Regions from separate parts of the Homo sapiens genome. Here regions 2 and 3 are each linked to region 1. Evidence: promoter capture Hi-C in human tissues and cell types (Jung and others, 2019). All regions are on one chromosome and are shown on one strand. Each heading gives the region's core, a stretch centred on a gene start or on the middle of the fragment in contact. The rest is flanking DNA. Distances are from core to core; before and after follow the strand shown. Region 1 holds the start of ZBTB18 (zinc finger and BTB domain containing 18). Region 2 overlaps SDCCAG8 (SHH signaling and ciliogenesis regulator SDCCAG8). Region 3 overlaps AKT3 (AKT serine/threonine kinase 3).

The links. The method cuts DNA at HindIII sites, captures the fragments that hold promoters and counts their contacts. A contact is called where the count stands out against the background at its distance.
Region 2: a contact is called between a fragment that was not itself captured here and the fragment with the promoter of ZBTB18 in region 1, in 2 of the 25 tissues and cell types used here (dorsolateral prefrontal cortex and hippocampus).
Region 3: a contact is called between a fragment that was not itself captured here and the fragment with the promoter of ZBTB18 in region 1, in 1 of the 25 tissues and cell types used here (dorsolateral prefrontal cortex).

The regions. Positions count from the first base shown.
Region 1 is chr1:244,049,164-244,053,313 of GRCh38, forward strand. It overlaps ZBTB18 (zinc finger and BTB domain containing 18), which reads left to right and starts at 2,120. Exons shown (of 2, transcript NM_205768.3): 1 at 2,120-2,281. The coding sequence starts at 2,269. RefSeq lists enhancers at 1,129-1,178, 2,895-3,396 and a silencer at 1,359-1,448. The HindIII fragment of the contact is 6,539 bases long and covers 1-3,369 here.
Region 2 is chr1:243,476,710-243,480,859 of GRCh38, forward strand. The region is part of intron 16 of SDCCAG8 (SHH signaling and ciliogenesis regulator SDCCAG8); the gene reads left to right. Among named protein-coding and RNA genes, the nearest start is that of MIR4677, 130 kb to the left of the region's middle. The HindIII fragment of the contact is 9,134 bases long and covers 1-4,150 here.
Region 3 is chr1:243,531,074-243,535,223 of GRCh38, forward strand. All of the region lies in intron 12 of AKT3 (AKT serine/threonine kinase 3), which reads right to left. Among named protein-coding and RNA genes, the nearest start is that of MIR4677, 190 kb to the left of the region's middle. The HindIII fragment of the contact is 4,559 bases long and covers 1-4,150 here.

The DNA.
Region 1 (4,150 bases), core at 870-3,369:
GCTGTTGGGGCGGCGGGGGGCGGCGCAGCTGCGGGAGGCCCGGGCGCGGGGACGGGGCCGCTGCAGCTGCGGGGTCGGGCGGGGTGCGGGTTCCCGGCTCCGCGCCGCGCCCCCGCGGGCCGGTGCAGCTGCGGCGCGGGGCGGGCTCCCGGCCGGTGCAGCTGCGGTGGCGCCTCTCGGGTGCGGAGGGCGGCGGGCTGGGGGAGGGGGCTTGGGAGCAGCCGCAGCTGCAGTGGCGCCCGGGACGGCCGCGGCTCCGGGGACCGGTGCAGCTGCAGTGGCGCCCGGGGGAGGGGGCCGGCGGGGGAGGGGGCCCTCCCGGGCTGGTGCAGTTGCCCGGAGGCCCCGGGGGCTCGCGCGTCGCGGCATCGGGGAAGCGGTAGCAACCACTCTCCTCCCGCTGGCTGCTTCTTACGACTTTTCTTTTGTTGTTGCCGTGACCCGGGTCTGTTTTCTCCTCTGTTGTTTAAGGTGTTTTCCTGCTGCACCGGCTCTGCGCCCTCCACCTCCTTCCCTGTGGTTTTAACCTTCCTCTTTCCCCGTGTGTTTTATGCACGGCGAACTACGTAAAGATTTGCATTGCTTCCCCACTCGGCACCCCCGCCCCCACCTCTCTGAAAAACAAAACCCCAACCTCACAAAACCTCTATGGATCCGCGGTAGCGAGACGTGAAGGGGTTGATTTGTGGAGTGGGAGTTGCTGGCCCATTGCGGTGCCCGGGACTCATTAAACTGTCACTCACCCCCCACCCCACTGGGTAAATGGGGTGATTAATGTCTGATATATTGGAATGGGTCGAGGGCATTTGTGGAGAATAGGTGGTGTGGCTGGGAAGAAATTGATCTCCCGAGGATGTCTCCTGGACTAAGTGTTCATAATTATGTCACTCACCGCGAAGTTGGAGAAAGTTAGGTTTGTGACTTTGGGAAAGCGAGAAGGACAGGACGGAGTCGTCGGGTTTTGTTACTCTTTAACTCTCCGCCACGGCTTTCTAATGGGAACGAAGTGGTTATCACCAGGGCTGGGACGCTGGCGCCTCAGGCCCCAGTTCCTTTTCTACCCCTCGCCCTCCCAAGAGTCTGAGGAGATGTATTTGACATTCAGAGATGTCGCAGCACCCTGCCCGGTACCGGTCAGCCCAGCCCGGGTCGCGTTACAGTTTCATCAGCTATTAGAAAAGACCCACAAACTGGCTGAAAAGTTCTCAAACTTACTAGACCTGGCTTCCCCCCACACAAAGATTTTCTTGTGATCATAAACATTAGAGTGACCCCCCCCCAAAGAAAAAAAAGATTGTTAAGGGACACAGATCAAGGGGAAGGCAAGGTTCTGCTTTTTCTGAGCAGAAAGATCAGATATGCAGGTGCAGCATTCATTTTAAGTGACTGGAGCAGGTTGTATCAGTTTATTAATTGGTCTCGTTGAACTGAAGTACTTTCCAGGATTTCAGAAAGTGCAGTTTCAGCTTGTTGGTACCGAGAATTGAAATTTGCATTGACTGTGGCAGTGTAAGAAATTTTTCTGAGAAGGTAGTTGTAGATAAGTAATTACATAAGAGTGAAATAATAAGGTGAACCAGTCTGAAGTAATAGTTCTGAACAAGTCTGCCAACATTTGAGACATGTATACCATTATCTCAGCAGAAAAAAATAAAAAAGTGCGGTAATAATGTTGAAATGGGACTGGAGATGTCAAATGGGTTGGTTTAAAAATATCCCTAAACTGCTTTAGAAACTAAACGTTGGAGTTGAATAAAAGTGAATCTGGATTTCCTGAATAGCACCGTGGCTTGAGTGTGCTGTCAGTATGTAAGCCAGTCCACCAACTTAAGACAGAAGTGTTGCTATTCCATAAATACAGTAGAACTCCATATGCTGAGTTTTTCAATTTCTTCTGTTAGAAAGTTTGGAAAAAAAGGAAGACTTTGAAGTATTTTGTTTATACTAACAGAAGAGAAAAGTTCTCCTAAGAAAAAGCTGGTGGCAGGAGTGTAGAGGAGTAGCATATGGCATTAAAAGGAGCACAGCTGGAGGTAGCATTTCCATCTGAACATGATGTCAGAGCAGCTGACAGCCTGCCATCCCTCAGCCTTTTATTCTAACACACAGACAGGGAGTTAGTGTGTGCGGATCTGTGGTGGAGAAGGTATCTCATTCCTCTCTAACATCATCTCCACTTTGCATCTGTCTCTCTTAGTCTGCTTTTTTTCCACCGATGTAACAGACCTGGAGCCAGCAGGACTCAGAGGAAAGGACTTAATCAGGTTTATGTGTCCTAAAGGTAGGAGTAGCAAGAGATTAGATTGAGCATATTTCTGTTTTGGTGTTTTGTTTATTTAATTTTAAAAATCACATTACTTTTCTAACCCAGTTTAGGAATAATATATGAAATTGAGTATTAAATGAACATCTTACTGGAGTTGAAAGTCTTGAGCTTGTTTAGTTTTAATTTTTTATCCCTTTTACTTGAGCGAGTAAATAACTTTAATACACAAATATTTCAAGTTTTGAAATGTTAAGAAAGGCTTTAAAATGCTGCTTTTGGAAATCACGTTGGATTAAAATGCTTTTTTGTTGTTCACTGCTATTTAGATTTGATTGGGGTGGTGGTGGTGGGGAAATAGTAAACTGGAATCCAGCATTCAAACTTATATGAGAAGATTATTCTAGTTAAGCAGCTAGATTGTTGTATAATTAATTCCTCTGTGAAACTTTATTCTTCAAAACATTGAGCAGCACTACTGAAACATACAGCTGTAGTGCTGTTGAAACTGCAGGTTTTTAAGAAGAAGAAAAAAAAACCAAACTTTTGTCCCCAGGAGAATAGTTTGACTGGTTTCCTCATTTCTCTTTCAAATATATATTTAAGAGATCTTTTATTTCAGCATAACAATAATTATTTGCAGGAGTTTTTGTGTTAGCGACTAATTTAGAACTTGTAGATTTGAGCTGCCTGAATTGGCCAGACAGCTGTAATCGCACTCCTCTATTCTTAATCTCTTTATCTGGGCAGCAGCTGCCATATGGCCACAGTCAGCTGGATCAGATGTTTATAAGCTTCCTTCTTCGTCCCTCTCTGTCCTCTCAGCCTCCTAATTTGATCACGGCTACCTTGTGAGCTGCCCTCCAATCTTTATTTTTAGCCTTCTCAAGGATTAGGATTGATGTTAGCTGTGGGGCACTTAAAGTGATTGTATTGTAAATCTTAGTTTATTCTAGCAGTGGCATCTTGCAGAATGTGTCTGGGGTTAGGATAAAGTTTTAGTCTGTCTTGGGCAAAGTGTAGAAGAACAAGAAGAAAGGAAGTAATTTCTGAATATTAAATTAAGTGTATCTATTCCCAAAATGCACTTGCTGAGATGGGTGGTGTGGAGGCTTGCTTCTGGTCACAGGAAAGGGGAAGTCGGGTCTTCTTTATTTTTCAGGAGTTTACCCACTGCAGTTGAATTCTGACCCTTTGTACATCTTTGCCTTTCTCCTCCCTCCATTTCACTTTCCCTCATCACAAAACAAGGGCAATGATGAATATTTGCAAGAATAGAAGCTAGTGGGAAAACAGAAATATATCAAATTATATTGAAACAAAGTATTTTCTGTTGGCTGAGGTAAGGCAGAACCAGGAAAAAAAAAAAGGTTCTCTTTTTCTAAAAAGGCTTAAAAAAAAACGTTGAACCTGTAAAGCTTTTGAGTTTTATTTAAGCGCTGTATGCCTTTATTTTTAAAAGTTTGAATTAATTTCAATATGAAACTCATTTTGCCTTGCAACGGATCAAAGTTTAGATGAGAATTTTCGGAGTTCAGTAAAGCCCCTCTGGTTCCTAATATTCTGAAAGTACAGTTTCTACAAAGAAATGTAACTACTTTTTTCTCAGTTCGTTTTGAAAAATCTTTGGATTTGTTCATAGTAAAGATGATCTTTTCCATCTGTTGGTGCAGCTCCTTCTGATCTCGTACATGTGTGCTATACCTGCAAATCTGAAGGCATTAACATCTGTTTTTATACACAGGGCTTTTGTTGTAACACCCTGACTTTAAAAGTAAGTTGTTTGCTAATTTCTGGACTAATTATGCAATTTCATTTTTTTTTCTTGATTCAGCCAAATGTGTGTGTGTGTGTTTAAACTGTGCTTTCTAAGCACAGTCAGGTAGC
Region 2 (4,150 bases), core at 742-3,241, 570 kb before region 1:
AAAACTGGCTTGTAATCACTCTGGGTTAAAGAAGTCTAAATAGAGACATGCCAACTAAGTATGAAGGATCTTTTCTGGAGTGGGAAGAAAGGAACATTATTGGGCCAGTCAACAAGATTAGAATCCAATTCAGTAGGTTAGATGAAGCTATTAGATCAATATGAAATTGACTGTAGTTGGTAATATACTGTGGTTCTGTAAGAGAATGCCTTTATCCTTAGGAAATACACACTGTAGCATATAAGATAAAAGGGCAATGGTGCATGCAGCTTACTGTCAACTGGTTCTGTACACACACACACACACACACACACACACACACACAGAGAGAAAGGCAGGAGAGCGTAATCAATCAGATGGGGCAAAATTATTACAGTAGGTGAATTTGAATAAAGGGTATGTTGGTATTCTCTGTAATATTCTTGCAACTTTTTATAAGTTTGACATTATTTCCAAATAAACCCATTTTTAAGGACGGCTTTAGGGTGAGGTAGGGTACAGTGTGCGTGGCAGTGTGGGTTTTCCTGCTGGTGCTTCTGTATGGCCTTGAGCCACATGCAGCATAGATACTACTCTGCAAAGATTCTGATTTTCAACAATTTCCATTCCTCTGTCCCATTTCCTTTGCACAGTGGGGCTATCCTCACCATTAGTCTGTTCTTGCTTGAGACAAAGCTGATTAAGGTAACTCTTACTTCAGGCAGATGGTCTTCTAGGTTCTTCAAAGTCTAAGATTCATAACGTGTCAACTCCTGTTTCATGGTGTCAGGATCCTTTATTCATGCCCAGTCTTCCAAAGGTATTACAAACTCAGCCTTGGTTCGATAGCACTTGTATTTTAAGAAGGTTACAAGGTAGTGATTCAACAGATCTAATTGCCCTAAGATGAAGCTGTGCCTCCTTTTTGGTAGAAGCACTGTTTGAAGAAGTTGGTCTTTGAAGAGCCTCGGTGATATTGTCAGAGGCTTTAGGTTCCTGTCAGAGGCAGCTGTGCTGGAGCTTGAAGAGCTGAAAGTGTCCCCTTGGCCATGGGCCCATTCACTGGGGGCCAGTGTGGCACTGTGGGCTTCCCAACATGGTCTTCCAAGCTTCTGGCCTCTTTTGCATCCTTTGTGCCAACACCAGTCTGTGGATGAGATCAATGTGGCTCAGAGTGTGGTTTCCAGAGTACGGTCCTCAAACTGTTACTGGTCTGGGATGAGGCAAGAACTGAAATTGAGTCAGAAATTTTCAAAACAATCAAACACTGCTTCCTCCTTTTTATTGTACTCCACAAAACCATTAGTCTACAATAGATTGGAAATTTTAAAAGAATTAAAATCAAGTCTGGTTCTCCTCACTGAGCTCATTGGGGAATCCCTGGCCTAGGGATTTCCCTCTTCTCCCGCCCCCAGGCCTCGGAAAATGAACTGGTGTCAGCTGCTGCCCAGAAGGTTACCCAGCGTGTTCTCTCTCTCAGGGTCCTTCCCTTAAATTCTCAAGTTTGACATGGAATAGAAGAATGTCGGGCGTTTCAAAAAAGGATTTTGAGATGCTGCAAAGCTCACTGGATTTAGAGTCAAGAGATGTGGGCTCTAGCGCCAGATTTACTACAGACAGGCTGCCTGACCTTGGGCAAGTCACTTATACTTTCTTGGCTTCACCATAATGGGCTGAACTGAATGTTCTCTAAGGTGCCTCTCAGCCCTAACATAATATGATTCTTTTCATGAGAAGAGCAGGACTTGATCCCCCCATCACTTGGGGGCATCCCCAAGGAGCCCCCTGTTCTTCCTCTGCAGGCAGCCAAGGCTAATTAGGAATCTGAGAGAATGAGCCAGGAAAGGGGCAGTACAGGACATACATTCTCTTCATTGAAGGTGGTACCCCCTCCCCACTGCACGATCCTCAGGAAGAATTCCTTTATTGAAACCATTATTGAATAGGGTAGATTTAGGCACGGGAAATGTAAACAGCAAACCAGCCACTAAAAGTGCGTTAATGTCACGCCTGTAATCCCAGCACTTTGGGAAGCTGAGGTGGGCGGATCATGAGATCAAGAGATCGAGACCATCCTGGCCAACGTGGTTAAACCCCAACTCCACTGAAAATAAAAAAAATTAGCTGAGCGTGGTGGTGTGTGCCTGTAGTCCCAGCTACTCGGGAGGCTGAGGCAGGAGAATCATTTGAACCCGGGAGGCGGAGGTTGCAGTGGGCCGAGGTTGTGCCACTGCACTCCAGCCTGGCCACAGAGTGAGACTCTGTCTCAAAAAAAAAAAAAAAAAAAAAGAAAGTGCCTTAATGTTCTGAGCAAGGATAATGGGCTAGAGCGTGTTCCGGAAGCCTCAGCACACTGCTTGTTCTCACTGATAGGACCTCGTTCACGAGATGGAATTATGTAAAATGCCGCAGCAATGGTTAAGTGTTGGAACAAAGTAATACAGCTTTACATTAACATGGTTTATTCACTAGAATTAATGACCTAGAGCAGTAATTGCATTTTCAAAACTTCAGCTTGCTGACTAGGTGTATTGCTATGTAAATAGCTAGCGATATTTGAAGATAGGAACACAGTAAAATCTGTAAAGTAATAGGATTGTAGAAATATGGAGCTGGAGGAGAATGTAGTCATCTTCTAGCCCCGAGGCTGGCAAACTTTAAAAGGTCAGGTAATAAATATTGTAGGCTCCATGGCCATATGTTCTCTGTCGCAGCTACTCGGCCGTTATGGTGCAAAAGCAGCCATAGACAAAACGTGAATGAATGGGCATGGCTGGGTTTCAATGAAAGTTTATTTAGGGGCGCTGCAAGTTGAATTTCATGCAGTGTTCACATATTATACTCCTTTTGATTTTTAAAAATCATTTTAAAATGTAAAAATCACTCTCAATTGGCAGATCATACAGAAACAGGCAGTGGCCTGTAGTCTGAAGTTTGCCGACCTCACTTCTAGTTTTCTCCTCTCATTTCACATGTGAGGAAACTGAGATTCAAAGTGATCACAGGATTTACTTAAGTTCTCATGACTGACGCCAGAGTATTTTAGGAGCAGACTAGGAGAGTTTTCATGTAGACAGTTGGTTGTTTTGATGATGAAAATTGAAGCCACACAAAAATTATTCTCCAGAAGAACTCATTTCGTATGTGTGATTAATACTGTGAATTAGAATGTACCAGTGGTTCTCATGCTTAAGAATTCATCAGAGTCATCCAGGGGCCTTATTAAAACACATGCTGCTGGGCCCCACCCTCAGAGTTGATGGTTCAGGTCTGGAGATCTTATTTTCTCCATTTTACAAATGGAGAACCTGAGGTTGAGAGAGATACTCAGTCTCAGGCTTAAGGTAAAATAGCTAGCTTGTGATGTCCCCCATTTCCAAGTTCAGCACTCATAGGATTAGGATTAGAGCTATAAGTAATCATCAAGCAGAGAGGCAGGGCTGCAGTTTTGTTTAGAGAGATCCTTCTAGTCTAGCTGTTGCGGGGAGTATGGATTCCAGGGGGCCGTGTGGAAGCACACAACTCTATGAGAAGGCTGTGCAGGAACCTGGATGTGAAGTGCTGGCAGCTGGACTTCAAGAGTGAAGGTCATGGAATGGATGGGTGGATGGATGAGTGGGATGGATGGATGGGTGGGATGGATGGATGGATAGGTGGGATGGATGGGTGGGTGGGATGGATGGATGGGTGGATGGATGGATGGATAGGTGGGATGGATGGGTGGGTGGGATGGGTGGATGGGTGGATGGGTGGGATGGATGAATGGGGGATGGATGGATGGATGGATGGATGGATGGATGGGTGGGATGGATGGATGGATAGGTGGGATGGGTGGGATGGATGGATGGATGGGTGGATGGATGGATGGATAGGTGGGATGGATGGGTGGGTGGGATGGATGGGTGGATGGGTGGGATGGATGGATGGATGGGTGGTATGGATGGATGGGTGTGATGGATGGATGGATGGGTGGGATGGATGGATGGATGGGTGGGATGGATGGATGGGTGGGATGGATGGATGGATGGATGGGTGGGATGGATGAATGGGGGATGGATGGATGGGGGATGGATGGATGGATGGGTGGGATGGATGGATGGGTGGGATGGATGGATGGATGGATGGGTGGGATGGATGGATGGATGGATGGATGGGTGGGGTGGATGGATGG
Region 3 (4,150 bases), core at 957-3,456, 520 kb before region 1:
TCTATCTATCTATCCATCCCTCTCTCTATCTTTTGAGATGAGGCCTCGTTCTGTCACCCAAGCTTGGAGAGCAGTAGTGTGATCACAGCTCATTGCAGCCTTGATCTCCTGGGCTCAAATGATCCTCCCACCTCAGCCTCCTGAGTAGCTGAGACTACAGTCGTGCACCACCATGCCCGGCTAATTTTTTGTTATTTTTGGTAAAGGTGGGGTTTTGCCATTGGTCTTGAACTCCTGGGCTCAAGGAATCCTCCTACCTTGGCCTCCCAAAATGCTGGGATCACAGGAATGAGTCACTGCACCTGGAAATGTTCAACCATTTTAACCTGTGAGAATGGCAATCACCTATGATTCAAGCAAATATTGTCCTGAAGTTACTTCATATCATTTGCATGCAAGTTTTTATAGTTTTCTCCCATATATATATTTTGTCATAAATACAATGCTTTTTATGGTGCATTTTCAGTTTTTGTAGTACGGTATTCTGTAAATATCCTCAGTATTTTGTTTTTCTGTGTTTGTTTTTTGAGATTTATCAATATTGATACTTATAAATTTGAGTTGTTTTTTATTCTTGAATAGTATTCTACCATAAGATTAAGAAAAAACTGCACTGAATCTGTATTATCATTTTGAGTACTCTCATCTTAAATTAAATATCCAATATATAAACATGAGATGTCTTTCCATTCATTTATGTCTTCTTTTATTTCTTTCAGCAATGTTTTGTAGTCGGTAGTGTATAAGTCTTGTGCTTCCTTGGTTAAATTTATTCCTAAGACATTTTTTGATGCTATTTTAAATGAAATTGATCTTCTTAAGATCAATTTTACATTGTTGATAGCTAGTATATGGAAATACAATGTATTTTCTAGCTTGCTTTTGCATCCTGCAACTTTACTGAATGTATTAGTTCTAAGCACAAGTGTGGCACGTGTGTGTGTATGTTTTAGGGTTTTCTACATATAAGATCATGTCACCTATTAGTAGGGGTAGTTTTATTTCTTCCTTGCAAATTTGATTGCTTTTTATTTCTCTTATTTAACTCCTCTGGCTACAGCTTCCAGTGTCACGTTAACAGAAATGTTGAAAGTGGTATCTTTGTTTTCTTCCTTATCTCAGGGGAAAAACTTTCAGTCTTTCACCATTGAATATAATGTGAGCTGAGGGTTTTCCAAACTATAGAAATGATCCCTTAAAGGACAGTCTTTCCAAGAATTTTTCATATATGACCTTTATAATGTTGTGGCAGTTTCCTTCTATTCCTAGCTTTTTTTTCTTTTTACTGTTTTTATCATAAAGGAGTGAATTTTGTCAAATGCTGCCCATCAGTTGAAATGATCATGCAAGTTTTCTCCTTCATTCTATTAATGTGGGACATTACACTGATTAATTTCTATACGTTGAACATCCTTGCATTCCTGGAATAAATCTACTTGGTTAAGGTGTACAATCCTTTAATTATACTGCTGAATGGTTTGCTAGTATTGTTAAGAAATTTTGCATCTGTATTCATTAGGGACATTGGTCTGTAGTTTTCTTTTCTTATAATGCCTCTAGTTTTGACATCAGGATAATGCTCCCTTCATAGAGCAAGTGAGAGAGTGTTCACTCCTCTTCAAATTTTTGGAAGAGTTTGAGAAGGACTGGCATTAATTTTTCTTTAAGTGTTGGGTAGACTTCCCCAGTAAAGCCAACTGGCCCTGGGCTTTTCTTTGGTGGGAGGTTTGCGATTAGTGATTTTATTTCTTTAAGAGTTACGGGGTCTATTTGGATTTTCAATTTATTCTTAAGTCATTTTGGTGATTTGTGTATTTCCAGGAATGTGTCCATTTCATCTAGGTTACTCAACTTGGTGGCATACACTTCTTCAGAGTATCATCTTATAACCCTTTCTATTTCTCTCAAGTCAGGAGTAATATCTTTTTTCATTTCTGATTCAGTATTTCATTTTTCTCTTTTTCCTCCTTAGTCAATCCATTTAAAGTTTTGTCAGTTTTGCTGATTTTTCAAATAACCAACTTTCGGTTTCGGTCATTATTCTCTATTGCTTTTCAATTATCGATTTCATTTATTTCCGTTGTAATCTTTACACCAATAAATTGGTTAACCAAAATAATGAAGAGGTAAAACTACCAAAAAGATATAACAATACTACAATTTGGGTGCATCTACACATGGAACTAAAAAAATGTCAAAACTGATAGAACTATAAACAGAAATAGTCAACGCCATAATTATAGTTGAAGGTTTCACTTCTCTCTTAGTAACTGATAAAAGCAAGCCATTAAGCTATCAGTAAAGATGCAGAAGACTTAACACTATTAGCCAATTCTATCACTGACATTTATAGAATATTCTACACAAGAGCAAAGTACCTATGGCAATTGTACTATCTGTGAAATGAATGGTGCTATTTAAAAGAGGACTTGAATTAGTTATAAGTGTATACTTCAAACTCAAGGGCTGGCAGTTAAAAAAAGTTAAAAAAGCATAATTTATTCAATTAATATGTTATGAGAGGGAAAAATGTTGCCTTATACAATGCTCAATTAAACCAGAGAAGGCAGAATAAAAATGGGATACACACACACACAAAGAAACAGCAAGGGCAATGGATAAAAAACTGTAAGAAGGCCGGGCGCGGTGGCTCACGCCTGTAATCCCAGCACTTTGGGAGGCTGAGGTGGGCGGATCACGAGGTCAGGAGATCGAGACCATCCTGGCTAATATGGTGAAACCCCATCTCTACTAAAAATACAAAAAATTAGCCGGGCGTGGTGGTGGGCGCCTGTAGTCCCAGCTACTCGGGAGGCTGAGGCAGGAGAATAGTGTGAAGCCGGGAGGCGGAGCTTGCAGTGAGCCCAGATTGTGCCACTGCACTCCAGCCTGGGCAACAGAGCGAGACTCCGTTTCCAAAAACAAAAAGAAAAACAAAAAAACCTGTAAGAAATCCAACTGTATCAATTATCATTTTTAATGTCAGTGGTCTAAAGACATCAGCTAAAAGACAGAGACAGTCAGAGTAGATAAAAAAAACAAGATCTAACTATATGGTCTACAAGAAACCCACTTTAAATATAAAGACACTGATAGATTAAAAGTAAAGGGATGGAAAAAAGATAGGCATGCTCATAGTAATTTAAAGAAAGTGGGAGGAGCTATATTAATTTAAGACAAAGTAGGGCAAGGAAAACTATCAGAGATAAAGAGGGGCATTACATAATGATACCTGGGCCAATTCTCCAAGAAAACATAACAGTCCTTAATGTGTATGTGTCTAGCAACAGAATCAAAATACGTGAGGCAAAAACTGATAGAACTGGAAGGAGAAACAGATGACTCTACTATTATAGTTGGACACATCAACATGTCCCCCCAGTCAGTTAAGGACATAACTGAACTAAACAGCACCATCAATCAACTGGATTTAATATCAACATTATGGAATATTTTATCCAAGAAAAGCAGAATATGTAACTCTTCTCTTCTCACACAGAACATTCATCATGACAGACCATGTTCTGGGCCATAAAATGCACCTTTAACAAATTTTTAAAAATCATATAAAAGTATGCTCTCAGACCACAATGAAATTAAACTGGAAATCAGTAACAGAAAGATAGCTGGAAAGCTCCAAAATACCTGTAGACTAAACAACACATTTCTAAACAACACACATATTAAATAATTCAATAAAACTTAAAACTATTTGTAACTAAATGAAAATAAAACATCAAAATTTGTGAGATACAGTTAAAATAATGCTTAGAGGAAAATTTATAGCATTGAGTGCACAAATTAGAAAAGATCGAAAACAAATAATCTAAGCTTTCAGGTTACAAAACTAGAAAAAGAGAAAATTAAATCCAAAGTAAGGAGAAGAAAAGATATAATTAAAATTAGAGCGGAAATCAATGAAACAGAGAACAGAAAATCAATGGAGAAAAACTAACAAAAGCAAAAGCCAGATCTTTGTAAATATCAATGAACTGATAAACCTCTAGACATGTTAAGTAAGTGTATTTCTATCAGCTCCCTTGCATAAATTTTAAAATATAAAATTAAAAATTTTAAAATATATTTTAAAATATATTTAAAATTTTAAAATAATTTTAAAATATATTTTAAAATTATTTTAAAATATATT